3 separate regions of the Homo sapiens genome follow, and all the other regions are linked to region 2. Evidence: promoter capture Hi-C in 16 types of primary human blood cells and fetal thymus (Javierre and others, 2016). All regions are on one chromosome and are shown on one strand. Each heading gives the region's core, a stretch centred on a gene start or on the middle of the fragment in contact. The rest is flanking DNA. Distances are from core to core; before and after follow the strand shown. Region 1 holds the start of GLI4 (GLI family zinc finger 4). Region 2 overlaps JRK (Jrk helix-turn-helix protein). Region 3 holds the start of ZFP41 (ZFP41 zinc finger protein).

Region 1 (2,700 bases), core at 130-2,629, 600 kb after region 2:
CCAAGTAGCTGGGATTACAGGTGCCCGCCACCGTGTCCGGGTAGCTTTTTTATATTTTTAGTAGAGATGGGGTTTCTCCCTGTTGGTCAGGCTGGTCTCAAACTCCCCACCTCTGGTGATCCACCCACTTCAGTGTCCCAAAGTGCTGGGATTACAGGCGTGAGCCACTGCGCCCGGCGCTACTTATAACTTTTTAAGAAACTACCAAGCCAATTTCTAGAATGGCAGCACCACTTTGCCTTACCACTGGCGATGTCCCAAGCTGCTCCGCGACCTCAGTGATGCTTGGCACTTGTTAGCAGTTTTTACCTGAGCCACCTGGCAAGTGTGCAGTGGCACCCACCGCGATGCTGGCCGGCCCTTCCCTGACAGCCATCCCTTCCCGAGCCTATTGCCATCCCTGTGCCCTCTTCGGTCAAACGTCTGTTGCGGCTCTTGCCAATTTTCTAACTGGAATGTTTGTTTTCTTGCGGTAGAGTTTAGAGATTTTTACATATTATCAGCCTGGGGGCTCCTCCACCCACACAGCCCTGAGCGTCCACCCTGGCAGCTGTTGCCCGTCTGCAGGCCCCCCCGCCCTCTGCTCCGCGTGCCCCTCCAGCTCAGGGGTCCCCTCGCCTCGGCTCTCTGCACCCCTGCTCAAAACGGTCAAAGAACCCTCCCCGGCCGTTTATTTTTCCCAGAAAGTGACAATTTTCTCTTTTCAGGTCGTAAGCACAGAACTGAGGGAGAAACTGTGGCTGAACAAGAGGAAAATGAGGAAGGAGTCCATGAAGGGGCTTTGGGGAACCTGTAACATCCTCCTCAGGCTCCCGGGGACGCCCCTGGAAAGCAGGCAGAATCGAGGGCGCTGGGGCCCCCGCGAGGGGAGCGGGAGGTCGCGCGTCTCGCAGCGGTTCCCGGCCGCCGGTGACCATCGCTGCGGACACATCCCGAGGAGGGAACCCAAGAGGGCGGCGGGGGGGACTCGCGAGCTGAACGTGGAAGCAACTCCAGCCGAGGACCCCCGGAGGCCTGGAGTGCACGGAGGGGCCGCGGGCAGCGTGGGGACGGCGCCGTCATCTCCCGAAGCCCGGCCCCGCGCTGGCTCCCCGGGCGGTGCAGGGCCGGCGTCGGGAAGGAGGCTCCGAGGCGCCGGCTTCTGCGCCCCACGCAGCGCCGCTCCCCGCGCCCGGGCGCTTTGCAGGCGCGGGCGGGATCCGGGCCAGCGTGTACGCGAAAGCCACGCGCGGGCGCAGCCCACGAGGGGAGGGGCGGGGAAAGGCCTCCTCTTCGCTCCCGGCCCCGCCCCCACACGGCCACCGAGGCGTGCGGTCCTCCCGGGGCCCAGAGCGTCCCGGAAGTGCGCGCCGGCCGGGCGGAGTGGGGCGGGGCCGGACACTTCCGTCCGGCGCGCGGCGTCCTCCTCCCGCTCGGAAGGTGAGTGGGCGCGGGCGGCGGCGGCGGCTCCGGGTGCCTGGGACCAGCCCAGTCCGAGCTCGTGCGCCGTACTCCGCGGTGCAGCCCTGCCCAGCCGGGCCGTGCGGCCCTTGCAGCCGCCGCTCGCCGTGACCTTGGCCTTGGGCCAAGCCCGGGGAGCGGGGTGGGCTCCTGGGGGTCGCGGAGCAGCAGCGGACCGCCCCGCCCAGCGGCCCTGGCGATAGCGGGTGTCCGTTCGCAGGGCGCCTTTCCCAGGCACCCAGTGACGGCAGCTGTCGTCATCGCCACTCTGCAGATGGGAAACTGAGGCCCGGAGGTCCCGCCGCTCCGGAGCGAGGAGCCGCCGGACCCCAGCGCCGCACCGCCGGGCGGACGCGCTCTGTGCCGAGCTCCCGGCGATTGGGTCCGCTCCCACGGGGCTGGGAACAGAGGGGCAGAGGATGCTTCCCCCGAGCCGCTGGCAGGAGTGCCCTTCCCCCTTCAGTCTGGAGCTCAGAGTTTGTGCGTCCCTGGGGGTGAAGGGGCGTCCACGCTGTGATGGTCGCCTCTGCTCAGTCCTGGGGGCCAAGCCAGGGTCGGGGTGATCGAGCAGGCCCTTTTACCAGGTGTCCCCAGTAAGTTAACTAAGTAACTTGAGATGTGACTTCAGGGTGGAGGACCTGCACCCAGTGGCCACCTACCTGGTGACCTGACCCTTCCCATCATTAGGGGATGGAGGCTGGCCCAGAAGCCGGGCACTGGGGTGGCGGCCGTGTGGGAGCTGCCTCTCCCACTTCCTCGAAGCAGGCACTGTCTGCTGTTCTTAGATCTGAGTATCCGTTAACTTTTGTCCTCTTTTCCCGTTCCTTTCTTCACTCCCTGCCCCAGATTAGGAGTTCCTACTCTATCACAGTATGAAAGAAAAGTCACTTTTCACATTGGACTCAAGCCGTTTTTGCAAAGTAAACTAAGAAGTGTCTTGGAGCCCTGAGTGAGTCTCCCAGTGCTGCTGCAGGGCTGGACTAGGGGATTCCAGCCTGCAGTCTCTGAGGGCTCTGTAGGGTCTGAGGAAGAGAGTTGCCCTCTGGAAACGTCTCTTCTCTGCTGTTCGGGAAAAACCTTATTAAGATTTCCTCCAAAACACTCATGCGCAGCAGGCATGGTTCGGTTTTCAGCCCTCCCACAGGGCCAGCAGCTGAGGTTTTTCTGGAAGACTCCCTATGCCTTTCTCTGGGGGAGGGGTGATGCCACGGGCTGGAAGGAGATGCCAGAGCCTCTGCTGGGACAGGAGCTTCGCTTCAG
Region 2 (2,700 bases), core at 64-2,563:
GGCAGAAGCCATCAGAGGAAGCCAGGAAGTCCGATGCTGGGCGGACCCAAGAACAAACCTCCCACCCGCCCAGCCTAAGCTTCTTGCTGTAACTGCTCGCTGGGCTACCTGAGCTTCTCAAATCCCTTATTCCTCCCTGAGGAGCAGAGGCAGGGGTGGAGGGATGCAGGGAGGAGGAACTCCTCACTACCCTCCCCGCCAAAGATCTTACAAACCCCATCTGGAGCAGGTCTCTAAACTCCTCTCTCCGACACAGAGCGCCAAACTGCCTCTAGAAAACAAGGCATTAGAAGTTTCTCTAGAACAGCAGGCCTCAAGCTCCTCCAAGGGCTAGGAGGTGCTGCCAGTTTCTCAATCACCCTCTGACCTCCCTGACTGCCACACACTCAGATGCGTCTACAAGGAGCCGCAGCAGACAGACAGCTGTGACCATTCCAGGCCTCTTCCAGAGGGGACCCCTCAAGCTCAGCTCAGGGTACCCTGCCCCAGGCAGCCACACTGAGCCGCTGGTCTCTGAAACCCCAGGCTCTAGTGCTGCCCGCCCACCTGGCTCCACAACCACGGCAGGGCCGCAGAGCCTGCCAGACATGGACGGACACGGAGACACACACACACACACACACACACACACACACACACACACAGCCACCCAACCTCACTCACACATACACGCTCAGAGGACACAGGAACAAGCTAGCCCAGAGCAGGAACTTCTTTAGCATTTGCTAATTTGGGAGGCTCTATGAACAAATGACTAATTTACGCCAGAAGCAAATGCCAGGAAACCTGATAGCCCCCTGGGAGCAAGGGTTCTTCCTGGGCCAGCTGTGCACCCTACGAAAAGCTTGCTTTTAAGTTTCACACACACCTTTGACCAATAGGAAGAAAAATGACATAGAAATGTCACAGCTCTAACCAAACACATCTTTCTGTTGGAGTTTTGAACTAACTTCTCACCCTTCTCCTATATAAAGACAATGCGGGTCATTCTCATCCCTTCTAGGTGGACAATTTCACCCTCTCATAACAACTCTGCGAAACACCCCACAACCCTCCCTACACCCGAGCCGACTGGCAGGGCACAGAGGGCGCACCCCTGTGAGGCCAGGGCAGCCTATGGAGTCAGGGCCTGCAATGCACTTCACCCAGTTAAGACACTGCTGAGGGTGGTGAGGGCTGAAAAGCTGTTTGCCCAAACACCGGGCAGCTCAGCTGGCCGCCTCAGTGTGGCGTGCGTGCTATGGGCAGGGGTCTCCCTGCCCTCACTCCTCCGCAGGCCAGCAGTACTTGAGGATGGACTCCTGGAGTTCCCACCTCCCTCCCGCGTCCTTACCATAGCTGCTTCTGCCAACTCCATGCAGAGCGTGTGGCCAAAGGCCTACTTACATGTGGAGCGCAGAAACGCAGCCCTTTGAGGCCAGAGCTCAAGGGAAAGGAGGAGTGCAATCAAATGCAGCAAAAGCTCCAAAGAAAAATTATAGGCTTGTTGGCTGCCACCTCTGGGTGAGTACTGTCCTCTTCCGGAGTCAGTTTCCTGGTCTGCAAAATGTGGGCTGGTCCCTTAAGGATCCTGCATTGTTCGCTGAGGGTGACGGTGTGACGTGTGTGCGGTCTGGCACAGCACAGTGAGCTATGTGCATCTCACCATGGGGAACAGGAGGGAAGGCAAGGCCACAAACCACCCTCCAGATTTTTAATATGAACCCGCTGTAGAAAAACTGGGGGAGACACGGAATCCCACAGTAGCTTATGAGGGACTAACTGGGGACTGGGATGCAGAGAAAAGCTTCCTGGAGGAGACTCAACACCAGACACAGCTCCTCGCGGACACGTCTCCATGCCTGACATGCAGGTGTAGCAGGATGACACAAAGTGGCTGAACTTGTTTCATAAGGAATATCTGAATTTTATTTTTAAAGGAAGTTTTTGGTCTTGCAAGTGGGACAACAGTGTGTTCTGCCAGTTTGTGTCATCCTGCCACACCTGCACGTCAGGCATGGAGACGTGTCCACAAGGAGCCCGTGTCTGGTGCTGAGTCTCCTCCAGGACGCTTTTCCCGGCATCCCAGTCCCCAGTCAGCCCCTCACAAGCTACTGTGGGATTCCCTGTCTCCCCGAAATTAGGGTGGTTTCTTGCCTTGCGACTGGAGAGGAAGCACTGATCCCCAAGGCCACGTGAACACGGGATGAAACGTGCAATTCTCCTGTGCCCAAGGCACAGACAAGAAACGGGAGGCCTGAGGGGCCAGCGCTGGGGCTGACTCCGTCCTGTGTGAGGCTAAGAGGCCCTGAGAAACGCGGGGGGAAAGCGGGAAACAACCTTCGCAGGGGCATAGTGTGTGTGTGTGTGTGTGTGTGTGTGTGTGTGTGTGCGTGTGTGTGTTGGGGGGTATGGAGGATATGAAGGAGAAATACTCAAAAAACAAGTCGCATTCTGGAGCTGGGGGAAGAGGTGAGCTGGGGGTCAGAAGGAGAGTATGGGACAGAGAAGGAGGGGACAGAAAGCCTGGGGCCGTGCGCCCCGCAGAGAGCGCCCGAGAGCCGGCGCCGAGTTCCGCTAGGAGCCCTCCACGCTGGGGGATCCTGGCGCAGAGACAGCGCTGGGCTACTGGCGAGGCTCGCTTAAAAAGCGTCCGTACCCCAGGGTCCCCGTTTGTGGGTAGAAATTCAGTCTGGGACAAGAACAAGAACAAAAACAGAA
Region 3 (2,700 bases), core at 70-2,569, 580 kb after region 2:
TCTGGGGGTGGGGCTCTCCCACGGACCCTGGGGAAGCGGCCACCCTGTGAACCGCCCACCCTCCCACAGTAGGGACTGGCAGGCAGCCCCCGGGAGCTGAGAGCAGCTCCTGCCGGCCCTCAGTCCTACAGGCACCAGGACATGACTTCTGCCAGCAATCGCATGAGGTGGGAAGTGATCCTTCCCCAGTCCAGCCCCCAGATGAGAACACAGCGGCTGACCAGAGCTGAGGACCCAGCTAAGCCTGGCCTTCTGGCCCACAGAAGCCTTGAGATAATAGGCGGATGTCGTTTTAGGACACCCAATTTGCGGTACGTAGGGAACTAACACGCGGGGCTCTGGCGGGCCTGGCGGCTCAGTGCGATCTGGGCAGGCAGGAAGTGGAGTGAGCACAGCCAGCGGCTGGGAGCACATCCCGGAGGGGCTGCCTGCGGCGGGAGGAGCGGCAGGGGCCACGTGGTGGGGGACGGCTCGCCAGGGCGCGCACGCGGTGGCGGCGGCGGTGGAGGCGTTGCCCGCCTAGCTAGGGGCCCGCGGCCTGGAGAGGCGTCGGTTCTCCTTCCGCGCTGAAGGCGGAGACAGCGACTTCCCGTGGAGGCAAGCCGTGGGCGCCGCGGAGGCGGGGGCTGGGGGTCGGCGGAGGCGGGAGCTGGGGGTCGGCGGGGGCTGGGGGTTGGCGGGGAGCGTCCTCAGGGACAAGTCTCCCAGCACGCGGCCGCGACCTCCCCGTTGGGGGTCTGGAGCCAGGAGCCCACGCGCGTCGGATCCGGAGAGTCTGGTGGGCGCAGCCTACGTGACAGGGTCGGCTCGGGACCGAGCTGCTGGGGACTGGGCCTTGCGGGGCGGGGCCGCTGGGGGCGGGGCATGAGGGTGCCGGTTCGGGGCGGGGCTTTTTGGGGGCGGGACATGGGGCGGAGCCTGGGGGCGGAGCATGTGGGGAGGTGGCTGGGGAGGAACTTTCGGGGGCGGGACACGAGGGCGGAGCCTGAGGGGGCGGGGCATGAGGGGAAGCCGGCTCGGGAAGGAGCTTTCGGAGGCGGGGCCCGCTCGGGGAGGGACCTGATTTCGGGGGAGCCTTCGGGAGGGCGCCTGCCATAGACGACTGTAAAGGGGCGGGGTCAGCTCGGGGAGGACCCTGCGGGCGTGGCGGCAGTTATGGGTGAAGCCTGAGGGGGCGGGGCCTGATCGGGGCGGGGTCTTCGGGGGCGGAGTCGGCTGGGGATGGAGCCGCTCGGGCCGAGCCCTCCACCGCCCACCATCACCGAGTCCGGCCCAGGCTCCTAGCGCGGCCGCCGGAAGGGGCGGGTCAGCGGGCGGGCATTTCCTGCCGGTGCCTAGGGCCGACGGGGACGCTGGCACTGGTGGGGAGCTGTTGGGGGGTCCCGCATCTAGGGCTCTCCTTTCCTGCCTCCGGCCCCCGCGAGGGGCGCGCGCCTCTCCCCGCCCTCCAGCAGTCCTGGTAGGGCCCGGGCGCGTCCGCGCTCTGCAGCGGGAGGTCCTCGTCGCCTCTCGTCTCCAGCCAGGTACTCACTGGGCTCCTGCCTGCCGCCTCCGGCCCAGGACGCGCAGCGTCGGTATGGGCCCCGCCGCCTCCCCGCACCCCGGCGCTCCAGGGATGTGGCAAGACCCGGCTTTGAGCACCTCCCGGGCGCCGGCCCCGAGGCCGACCTAGCTCTGCACGTGGGCCGCGGGGCTCTGCCGTTGAAAGGAGAGCCTCTAACTAGGAGCACGCACGGGACCCTGGCGGGCCCCTCCGCCTGGCTCAGATGCCTGGCATCTCAGGCCTTGGCACAGCTAGCAGGCCCCTGGCAGGCCGTGGACCCAGCAGGCTGTTTTAGTGCAGATTGCCCCTGAATCTCAAGCCCACTAATGTTCCAGTCTCTCCATGAGACCCAGATCCCTGAAAGTAGTGGAGGGAGGCGCCAGGGTGAGTGAGGTTTTCTAGGCAGCCCTTACCGCCCACGGATACCCAGAGCTTCATATTACAAGTGAAGGGTCCTCCGCCCAGAGAGGCGACGGAGCTACGCTGGAGTTGCACGACAGAACCAGAACCCCAGTCTTTAGGGGTGTGGCAAGCGTGGGTTGCGCTGTTTGTAACTAGCTAATCACTCCTGTCTACAGGCCTGTGAGGTGAGGCCAAGAAAATCGCTATGGTCCAATCCGTTTTTGTTTTTTGCGTGTGGGGTTTTTTGTTTTGGTTTGGTTTGGTTTTTTTGTTTGAGACGGAGTCTTGTTCTGTCGCCAGGCAGGAGTGCACTGGCGCGACCTTTGCTCACTGCAACTTCTATCTCCTGGGTTCAGGCAATTCCCCTCCCTCAGCCTCCTGAGTAGCTAGGACTACAGGCACGTGCCACCACGCCCAGCTAATTTTTTGTGTTTTGGTAGGGACAGGGTTTCACCATGTTGGCCAGGATGGTCTCGATCTCCTGACCTCGTGATCCGCCCACCTCGGCCTCCCAAAGTGCTGGGATTACAGGCATGAGCCACCGCGCCCGGCCAGTCCACTCTGCTTTTAAGAAATATTTTATTTCTCAGGGTGGGCAGCGTGTAGAGAAGTGAGTCATTCCAGTCTCTGCCGGTTAGCACCTGCCAGCCTAAGTTGAGTCGACAGAGCCGTTATGGAGAATGTTCCCTGACCACAGTATGTGACTAGGATTTGGAGATAAAAAAGATACGATCCTCGCCTTCAGGAGACCCTGT

What was found. The method cuts DNA at HindIII sites, captures the fragments that hold promoters and counts their contacts. A CHiCAGO score of 5 or more calls a contact.
Region 1: the fragment with the promoter of GLI4 here is called in contact with a fragment that was not itself captured in region 2 in 1 of 17 cell types (neutrophils); the score reaches 5.3 in neutrophils.
Region 3: the fragment with the promoter of ZFP41 here is called in contact with a fragment that was not itself captured in region 2 in 4 of 17 cell types (naive B cells, total B cells, neutrophils and 1 more); the score reaches 9.1 in naive B cells.

The regions. Positions count from the first base shown.
Region 1 is chr8:143,266,066-143,268,765 of GRCh38, forward strand. It overlaps GLI4 (GLI family zinc finger 4), which reads left to right and starts at 1,380. Exons shown (of 4, transcript NM_138465.4): 1 at 1,380-1,419. RefSeq lists silencers at 846-1,555, 1,716-1,835 and an enhancer at 2,396-2,700. The HindIII fragment of the contact is 18,516 bases long and covers 1-2,700 here.
Region 2 is chr8:142,666,830-142,669,529 of GRCh38, forward strand. All of the region lies in intron 1 of JRK (Jrk helix-turn-helix protein), which reads right to left. Among named protein-coding and RNA genes, the nearest start is that of JRK, 1.8 kb to the right of the region's middle. RefSeq lists an enhancer at 51-907. The HindIII fragment of the contact is 942 bases long and covers 843-1,784 here.
Region 3 is chr8:143,245,620-143,248,319 of GRCh38, forward strand. ZFP41 (ZFP41 zinc finger protein) reads left to right here and starts at 1,320. Exons shown (of 3, transcript NM_173832.6): 1 at 1,320-1,523. RefSeq lists silencers at 415-574, 775-1,664, 1,705-1,754. The HindIII fragment of the contact is 20,601 bases long and covers 1-2,700 here.